Linked DNA regions of Homo sapiens: region 1 is linked to region 2. Evidence: promoter capture Hi-C in 16 types of primary human blood cells and fetal thymus (Javierre and others, 2016). All regions are on one chromosome and are shown on one strand. The core of a region is centred on a gene start or on the middle of the fragment in contact, and the rest is flanking DNA. Distances in the headings are between cores, read along the strand shown. Region 1 has its middle 25 kb from the start of GTF2A1-AS1. Region 2 holds the start of TSHR (thyroid stimulating hormone receptor).

Region 1 (5,080 bases), core at 1,371-3,870, 290 kb after region 2:
CAAATTCTGTATACTTTCTTCATTCGTTTTTATTCTTTATCCTTTATCCGTTTTTTTTATGGTCTGTGTATGTTATTTCAAAATACCTGTCTTCAAGTTTAGAAATTCCTTTCTCTGCTTGGTCTAGTCTGTTGCTGAAGCTCTTAAGCATATTTTGTATTTCATTCACTGAATTCTTCAGCTCTTGGGTTTCTGTTTGCTTCTTTTTTTTTATGTGAACATTCATATTTTAGTAGGAATCAAAGTTCTCATGAAATATTAGGGTAGAAAATACATTTAAGAAAGAATACTAAAAAGAAAAGATAGACTTTTGCAGTCATTATGTTTATCAATTTTTTTTTTCTTAGCATTTATTGATCATTCTTGGGTGTTTCTCAGAGAGGGGGATTTGGCAGGGTCATAGGACAATAGTGGAGGGAAGGTCAGCAGATAAACATGTGAACAAAGGTCTCTGGTTTTCCTAGGCAGAGGGCCCTGACGCCTTCCGCAGTGTTTGTGTCCCTGGGTACTTGAGATTAGGGAGTGGTGATGACTCTTAACGAGCATGCTGCCTTCAAGCATCTGTTTAACAAAGCACATCTTGCACCGCCCTTAATCCATTTAACTCTTAGTGGACACAGCACATGTTTCAGAGAGCACGGGATTGGGGGTAAGGTTATAGATTAACAGCATCCCAAGGCAGAAGAATTTTTCTTAGTACAGAACAAAATGGAGTCTCCTATGTCTACTTCTTTCTACACAGACACAGTAACAATCTGATCTCTTTCTTTTCCCCACATTTCCCTCTTTTCTATTCGACAAAACTGCCATCGTCATCATGGCCCGTTCTCAATGAGCTGTTGGGTACACCTCCCAGACGGGGTGGCAGCCGGGCAGAGGGGCTCCTCACTTCCCAGACGGGGCGGCCAGGCAGAGGCGCCCCCCACCTCCCAGACGGGGTGGCGGCCGGGCAGGGGCTGCCCCCCACCTCCCGGACGGGGTGGCTGCCAGGCGGAGGGGCTCCTCACTTCCCAGACGGGGCGGCTGCCGGGCGGAGGGGCTCCTCACTTCTCAGACGGGGCGGCCGGTCAGAGATGCTCCTCACCTCCCAGACGGGGTGGCGGGGCAGAGGCGCTCCCCACATCCCAGACGATGGGCGGCTGGGCAGAGACGCTCCTCACTTCCTAGACGGGATGACGGCTGGGAAGAGGTGCTCCTCACTTCCCAGACCGGACAGCCGGGCAGAGGGGCTCCTCACATCCCAGATGATGGGCAGCCGGGCAGAGACGCTCCTCACTTCCTAGACAGGGTGGCGGCCGGGCAGAGGCTGCAATCTGGCACTTTGGGAGGCCAAGGCAGGCGGCTGGGAGGTGGAGGTTGCAGCGAGCTGAGATCACGACACTGCACTCCAGCCTGGGCAACATTGAGCACTGAGTGAGCGAGACTCCGTCTGCAATCCCGGCACCTCGGGAGGCCGAGGCTGGCAGATCACTCGCAGTCAGGAGCTGGAGACCAGCCAGGCCAACACGGCGAAACCCCGTCTCCACCAAAAAATAAAGAAACCAGTCAGGCGTGGCGGTGCGTGCCTGCAATCCCAGGCACTCTGCAGGCTGAGGCAGGAGAATCAGGCAGGGAGGTTGCAGTGAGCCGAGATGGCGGCAGCACAGTCCAGCCTCGTATGGGTATCAGAGGGAGACCGTGCCGAGAGGGAGAGGGAGGGGGAGGGGGAAGGGGAGGGGGAAGGGGAGGGGGAAGGGGAGGGGGAGGGAGAGACTGTTTGCTTCTTTTTATGATATCTATCTTTTTGTTGAATTTCTCATTCAAATAATAAACTGATTTTTGTGATTTCATTAGTCTATCTGTATTCTCTTGCATCTTACTGCGGTTCTTTAAGATTATTATTTTGAATTCTTTTTCTGTCATTTCATATTGTTTTATTAGAGTCTGTTACTAGAGAAGTATTGTTTTCCTTGAAAGTGACATGTTTCTTTCCCCTTTTCATGGTTGATGTGTTCATACATTGATTTCTACACATCTGGTGGAAAAGTTATGTTTTCCAGTTTTATGAAGAAGGCTTCATAGGGAAACACTTATTTGTACCAATAAACCTTTGGGTGTCAGTTCAGTGGGGTGCATTGACCTTGATTCTAGGTATGTACAGTAGTGTACTCTCCATTTAGTCTCTTCAGCTGTAATCCATACTAGTGGCATTTGTGTGTTTCTCAGTGGTCTAGGCTGAGAGAATTTGTGATAATGATGTGGCTTTGCTGGAGTTGGGCTTCCCAGACTGTTTCTCAGGCCTGGTGTGTGTGTGTGTATGCACACAGTGGGTCAGCCAACTTGGGGTTTGGCTCACTGTGGTTTAGGTCACAGGGTTGTTACTCTGGCTGGGGGCATGCACACATGGTTGCTCAGTTGGCCTTGGGGTGTGCCTGCCAGGAATGGTTTGTGGGACTTTTTTTTTTTTCTTTTCACATCTGCAACAGATTTATTTTTTAAAGGAATGGATTTTGAGAGAAAACAACGTGGGGCAAAAGTATGGAATAGAAAATAAATACAGATGTAGGCTATTGTGCTAATTGTTTTGTAACCACAACAAGCTAGTACAGAGAATGCCCTGTACAAAACACAACAAAGGTTCAAACATCGAGGAGTTCCCTTAGCAAGGTTGAAAATTTCAGTCTCTGGTATTTGGAATTTAGGCTGCAGTCCTTGTTTTTGGATGGACCACTGGGTGTGTGGCACAGTCCATGCTTTTAACCAGATTTGAACAGAAGAATGGCCACTTGGCCCAGGTAGAAGTAGATGAAGTGTTTGGTTTCATGTGTCACGTAACTACTGAAGTTCCTCCCCAGGATGCAGTGCCAGGTGGCATTGTACTTCTTGTCACATTCCTTCTTGATATGAGCCGCAGTGTTCTTCTCTATGTTGTATTTCTCCAGCGCCTGAGGAGCGCACTCCACTGAGTTCTGTTGCATCTCCTCCGACATGTCCGCATTTTTGATCACGGCCTTTCGGTCGCACATGGTTACCATGGAGAAAGGGGCTGGCCAACTCCAACGGTCCCCTGGGAGGTGCCAGCACAGCTCAGGCCCGGCTGGAGCTGCCGTTGCTACCAAAGCCGTGGCGCATCTCGGTTTGTGGGACTTTCTTCAACCCAGGATGTGGGCACACAGCTGCTTGGCTGGCCTGGTGATGTGTCTGCCAGGGGTGACCCACAACATGCTTTCTTTGGTTTAGGATGCAGGCATAAAGCTGCTTGGGTCTAGGGTGTGTCTGCTCTGGGTGATTCACAGAGTTTCTTAGGCCCAGGACACAGCTGCCCAGTTTCTCAGTTGGCCTGGGGCATGTTTGTTGGGGGTGGTCCCTGAGGTTTCTCAGGCTCAAGACGTGATCACATGGCTTCTTGGCTGGTGTGAGTGCACATCTGCTGAGGATGGTCCAGGGGGCTGTTCCTCTGGCTCAGGATGCTGGTACACAACTGTTTGATTGGCCTGCGGACATGTCTGCCATTGGCGGCCCATGGGGCTGCTTTTCACGCCCAGGATGTGGGCACAAGTCTGCTTGGCTGGCCCAGGGGCACGTCTGCTGGGGGTGGCCCGCAAGTTATTTCTCAGATCCAGTGCATGGGTGCATGACTGCTCTGCTGCCTGGGTTGGGCACAAGGCTATTTCTCAGACCTATGACATATCTGCATTGCTGCTCAAATGGCCTAGGGGCATTTCTGTGGGTGGTGGCCCATGAGATTATTTCGTAGGCCTGGGCAAGGAGCACAGGACTGCTTAGTCAGCTTGTGGTTGTGTCCACTACAGGCAGCCTGCAGGGCTGTTTTTCAATCTAGGACACGGACACACAGCCGGTCAGTTGTCCTGGGGGATGACTGTCAGGGGCAGCCCACAGGGCTGTTTCTCAGGTCTGGGATTCAAGTGCATGGCTGCTCAGCTGGCTCAGGGGCACGCCCACAAGGGGCAGCCTGCGGGACTGCTTTTTAAGTCCGGCATATGGGCTCTTGGCTGCTTGGCTGCCCTGGAGACGTGCCACCAGTAGTGACCTACAGGACTCTTTCTTAAGCTCTTATCGGAGACACAGGCCCACTGGGCAGGTCAGGAGCATGACTGTTGGGGGCAGGGGTGCTGCAGGGCTAGTTCTAGTGTAGCCACTCTGCTGGCCTGGGGCATCTCAGCTCCCATATGTGGGAGGACACACAGTGGTTTGGCTAGCTCATGGACAGTTTGCCCTGGGCGAGACCGGCAGACTCTTTCTCTAGCTGGATGTATGGTGGTGGGAATTGGTTTCTCTGCTTTGCAGGACCAGAGTTACAGCTGATCCTGGGCCCAAGCTCTGCACAGCTAGGGCTGTGGCATCCAGCTACCCTTGTGGGCTTGGCGTAATGAAAATGGAGCCCCAGTGCTGGGGTGGCTGCTGACCCTGGGAGGAGGGTGCACTCCACAGGTGGCTCTGCTGTCAAGATGGGGCTATTCTGCAGCAGCTTCGCTCACAGGGAGTGGGTGGGGGTGGGGAGTGCACACCTTACACTCCTAATCCAAGGCAGTGCAGCTGCATGAATTCCAGGCAGCTCTGCAAACGGGGCTCAGGGCTTGTGAGAACTGTGGGGTTCTCCTGTAGAAAGGACTATAGGTGTTTGTCAAGATAATGAAGGCTGGTGGGGATCTGCTTACCTTTTCTCCACAACAGGAAGTCCCTCCTGTCTTCAGGCCAATCCGATTTGGGAAAAGCAGATGGGGCTGTAGAGGCCGGGTGCCTCCATGCTGCTCTTCCGGACTTCTGTCACTGCAGATTCATCCCACTCCCCCACTGTACTCCAGTGCTCTCCCTTCGACACTCCAGTCAAAGTGAGCTGTTTATTCATTGCCTTGGGCCTTTCTTGTTGGGCGGGACAAGCAGCAGGTGTCTCTAGTCAGCCATCTTGCTGACATTACTCCTGGCTCCAATTCTTTTTTTTTTTTTTTTTTTTTGAGACGGAGTCTCGCCTTGTTGCCCAGGCTGGAGTGCAGTGGCGCAATCTCAGCTCACTGCAACTTCTGCCTCCCGGGTTCAAGTGATTCTCCTACCTCAGCCTCCCGAGTAGCTGGGATTACAG
Region 2 (4,807 bases), core at 1,965-4,464:
ATCAAGGAAGAAATCTAAAAGAAAAACTAAAAAGTATTTTAAACTGAATACAAATGAAATTACAAGATATCGAAACCTGTGGGATGTCTCTAAAGTAGTATAGGGAAAGTCTACAGCACTACACACATACAATATTATAAAAGAAAAATGGCCTCAAATCAGTGACCTCAGTCTTAAGAAACCTCACCTTAAGAAGTAAAGAAGAGCCAATTAAACCCCAAGTAGGCAGAGTAATAAAATAATAAAGATCAGAGCATATATCAATGAAATAGAGCACAAAAAAAAATAGAGAATCTAAGAAACAAAAATTTGCTTCTTTGAGAATATGAATAAAATTGATAACCCTCTGGATAAAGTACTTAGGTGAAAAAAAGAAGATACAAATTATCAATATCAGGTATGACAGAGTTGACATCAGAATAGATTATATAAATATAAGAGGATAAGAGAATATTATGAACAAACTCATGCCAATAAATTCAACAATTTAGATGAAATAGACAATTCATTATATGACACAAACTGCCCAGGCTACCTCAAGAAGAATTATATGACTTGAATAGCCCTAAATCTATGTTTAGAAACTGGATTTATAGTTAAAAACCTTCCAATAAGGAAAATGCAAGGTTCCAACAGCTTCACTGGAGAATTCTACCAAATAAGTAAGAAAGGAATGATATCAGTTCTACACAAACTCCTATAGAAATTTAAAGAGGAAGGAATATTTCCCAACTTATTCTGTGATGGAAGAATTAATTGCCCTCATACCAAAATTTGACAAAGAAGTTACAGAAAAGAAAATAACAGACTACTATCCCTTGTGAACGTCTATGTAAAACTTTTAAACAGAATTTTAGCAAATCCAATGAAGGAGTATATTAAAAAGATGATAAACACGGCCGGGCACGGTGGTGCATGCCTGTAATCCCAGCACTTTGGGAGGCTGGGGCGGGCGGATCACGAGATCAGGAGTTCCAGACCAGCCTGGCCAACATGGTGAAACCCCGTCTCCACTAAAGACACAAAAAATTAACCGGGCGTGGTGGCGGGCGCCTGTAATCCCAGCTACTCTGGAGGCTGAGGCAGGAGAATCCCTTGAGCCCGGGAGGCGGAGGTTGCAGTGAGCCAAGATCGTGCCATTGCACTCCAGCCTGGGCGACAGGGCGAGACTCCGTCTCAAACAAACAAACAAAAAAAGGATAAATACATCATGATCAAGTGAGATTTATCCCTGCAATTCAAGGTGGGTTTAACATTCGAAAATCGATCACTATGATTCACCACATTAATAAACTACCATGGAACCATCACCACGAACAAGATTTAAAACAGTTTTATTACCCACAAAATTCTCTGGTGTTCATTTGTAGTCAGCCCTACCCTAGGCCTTTGCAACCGCTGATCTTTTTCCTGTCCCTATGGTTTTGCCTTTTTGAGAAAGCTATATAAATGAATCATTAATATGAATAATTACATATAAATACGTAATATTTTGAGTTTGGCTTTTTTCACTTAACATTATGCATTCAAGATTTGTTCCATAACAATACCATGGTAATTTTTAAAAAAACAACAACAAAAGCCCGGGTGCGGTGGCTCAAGCCTGTAATCCCAGCACTTTGGGAGGCCGAGGCGGGCGGATCACGAGGTCAGGAGATCGAGACCAGCCTGACTAACACAGTGAAACCCCGTCTCTACTAAAATTACGAAAAAATTAGCCGGGCGTGGTGGCGGGCGCCTGTAGTCCCAGCTACTCGGGAGGCTGAGGCAGCAGAATTGCTTGAACCTCGGAGGCAAAGGTTGCAGTGAGCCGAGATCGCGCCATTGCACTCCAGCCTGGGCGACGGAGCAAGACTCCGTTTCAAAAGAAAAAAAAAAAGAAAAGAAAATTTGTGCATGTTGTATCAGCAGTTCATTCATTTTTATTGCAGAATAGTATTCCAATGTGGAGGTATCAGAGTTTGTTTATCCATTATCTAGTCGCGAGACACTTGGTTCGTTTAGTGGTTATGAATAAAGCTTCTGTAAAATTTGGAATACACATATTTTAAATGTACGGTTTAATGAATTTTGATAAATGTATACATCCACTTAACCTCCAGCCTAATTACGATATGGAAACCCTGTGTGTTCCCTCCTGTCTTTTTCTAGTCAATCTTTCCTAACCTTTATTCTGATTCCCATAACCACAACTTTTTCCTTCCTGTCCTAGCCAAGTTCATATAAAAGGAATTATGCAGTATAGAAGGAATTGACATTCCTTTTATCCCAAGAGGAATAAGTGATTGAAGACTTTTAAGAAGGAAATAGGCACAATCTGATTTATGTTTGTAATGATCTTTTTGGCTACTGTGCGAAGAATGGTGAGTATGCCACTTAAGTATTATTTTTCTTCCCATCTTCCAGGGGGAATATGACTCAATGAAATTCTTGGGTCGACCAGAATTTCCATACTGGACCCATTATTAAGGGAACCTGGAATTATTTCTGCCATTCCCGATTCTTCCCAGCAGATGGCCCCAAAGTTCAGTTCCTGAATTGCCTCGCGGAGCCGCGGGCTGCAACGTGAGGCGGCCGCTGCCAGTCGACTCAACCACCGGAGTGGCCCCTGCAGTTGGATAGCAACGAGAATCCTCCAGGGGTGCAGGGCGACGGCTTCGGCCGCACCGCGGGCTAGCCAGGGCTGCGTGCCCGCCTCTGACCCTCAGCAGAGGTGTCTCTGGCCAGGAGGAGCTGAAGTTCTGCAGGACATTGGTCCGCCCGCGGACAGTCCACTCCGCGGGGACTTTCTCTGGATAAGGAGTGCGTGCGAGTGGCTCCCAGGCAGACAGGGTGTCTAGAAGGCTACACGCTAGGGAAGGTGGCTCCTTGGATTTAAAGAGGAGGAAAGGAGGGGGCATCTAAACTAGGCTTTGGAGAGAACTAATGGGAGGGGCGCCCGGGGTGGGGGGGCGGGCTGGAAAACAGAGGGGACAGCCAGGACTGGTGTTGGGTGTCAGGGAACAGACGGAGCGGACTGCGTGGGTCCAGCCAAGGAAAGTGAAGCAAGCAGACTTGTTTGGGTCAAGGTTGCCTAGGGAAGCGGAGCACTTAAGTGCCTCTTTTTCCCCTTCTCCAGCCTCCTCCACAGTGGTGAGGTCACAGCCCCTTGGAGCCCTCCCTCTTCCCACCCCTCCCGCTCCCGGGTCTCCTTTGGCCTGGGGTAACCCGAGGTGCAGAGCTGAGAATGAGGCGATTTCGGAGGATGGAGAAATAGCCCCGAGTCCCGTGGAAAATGAGGCCGGCGGACTTGCTGCAGCTGGTGCTGCTGCTCGACCTGCCCAGGGACCTGGGCGGAATGGGGTGTTCGTCTCCACCCTGCGAGTGCCATCAGGAGGAGGACTTCAGAGTCACCTGCAAGGATATTCAACGCATCCCCAGCTTACCGCCCAGTACGCAGACTCTGTGAGTACCCGGGAGAGATCAGGGTAGGACCCAGAGATCAAGGGCATCTGCAGAGGTGGCCCGAAGTGCACAAAAGCAGCTCAATAACAGCCCGAAGTAGTGTGTGAGTGTGTGTATGTGTGAGTGAATGTCTGTGTGTGTAGATGTGTGTGTGTGCTAAAAACTTAATCGCCCACACTTGGGAAGGTATCATTGTTGACATCCTCATTCCCAACACAGGAAAATGTTACAAAACTTTGGTGTACAATGACCGTGAGAGCTGTTCTTTCCAACAAGCTGCTATTCAGCACTTTGCCTAACCCTGGTTGAATCTGTTTTATTTGAATTAATAAGGATAATGGCATCTCAGGAACTGACCTTTTTGATCTTACCTTGGGTAATAAAAAATTGCAAAAATATGTATTTCTCCTTTTTGTTTCTCTAGATGGGAGGTTATCTTAGCAGTTCTGCTGATTCATCAAATTGTTGACAAAGGTTTAAGCAGGGGCCCTTTTTAAAATGAACTGTCTATACAGTATCTGTAAGTTACTTACTCAAATGTGAACTGCCAGTGAAATAGTACGTCCAGAACCCTGCTTTGTGATAGAGGTATAAAGAAATGAAATTTCATAAAAGTATAGTACATTTATCTGCATGTTAAATGTTACCAGATTAGAAACCTGATGTTAAATAAGATTATACACACACAACCTGTTTCTTAACAGCAATTTAAATCAGTGATCATTGAAATTGTAGACAAAACCAAGGGAATAAAGTCTGTCTTGATTAGTTAAAAAGAGAACAGAAAGAAAGGACAGTAAAACAACCTAGGCTGGTTAAATCCAGTTAAGATAAAAAAAAATGCAGGTTATTAAAGAAAATGTTGATAGATGAAAAGAAATGGGAAAGTTGCACCTCTAGATTTTCTCAAGAATTTAGCTCATGAAGACTATTTAACAGTAGATGAATATTTGAGCACAGAGATATATTTCTGTGCTCAGAGATATCCTAGTGTCTTAGCACACCTGAATTAATTAGTTCAATAACCTCCAAACAGTGTGGTAGTCATTCTCCATGCTGCCACCACAGAATAAGATGTGTAAAAGGTGTAATGGCCTCTTGATTACACCTCTACATAGGTTGCTTGTCACCTCTAGAATAAAATTCTTTTGTGCAGCCTACCAGATCTTTCAAGACCTAGTCAAGTCTTTCCAACCTCATTGCTCCTCATTTCTCTAACTTCCCCCTCCTGCTGAGAACTTCTGGCACTTCCCCAAAGGTCCCTGCTGTTACAGCTGCCCTTGCCTTTCTTCCCACTTTCTGGCCCCTCTGCCTGAAGCACATTTCACCCATTTCTTCACCCAGCTAATGCCTACTCCCAGAT

Evidence for each region. Contacts are between HindIII fragments. The CHiCAGO score rates a contact against its expected background, and 5 or more counts as called.
Region 1: a contact is called between a fragment that was not itself captured here and the fragment with the promoter of TSHR in region 2, in 9 of 17 cell types (naive CD4 T cells, activated CD4 T cells, total CD4 T cells and 6 more). The highest score is 7.7, in naive CD4 T cells.

What each region holds. Positions count from the first base shown.
Region 1 is chr14:81,243,559-81,248,638 of GRCh38, forward strand. It overlaps the pseudogene DYNLL1P1. Among named protein-coding and RNA genes, the nearest start is that of GTF2A1-AS1, 25 kb to the left of the region's middle. The HindIII fragment of the contact is 6,209 bases long and covers 1-5,080 here.
Region 2 is chr14:80,952,407-80,957,213 of GRCh38, forward strand. It overlaps TSHR (thyroid stimulating hormone receptor), which reads left to right and starts at 3,215. Exons shown (of 10, transcript NM_000369.5): 1 at 3,215-3,444. The coding sequence starts at 3,275. It also overlaps a transcript of CEP128 not described here. The HindIII fragment of the contact is 2,816 bases long and covers 2,018-4,807 here.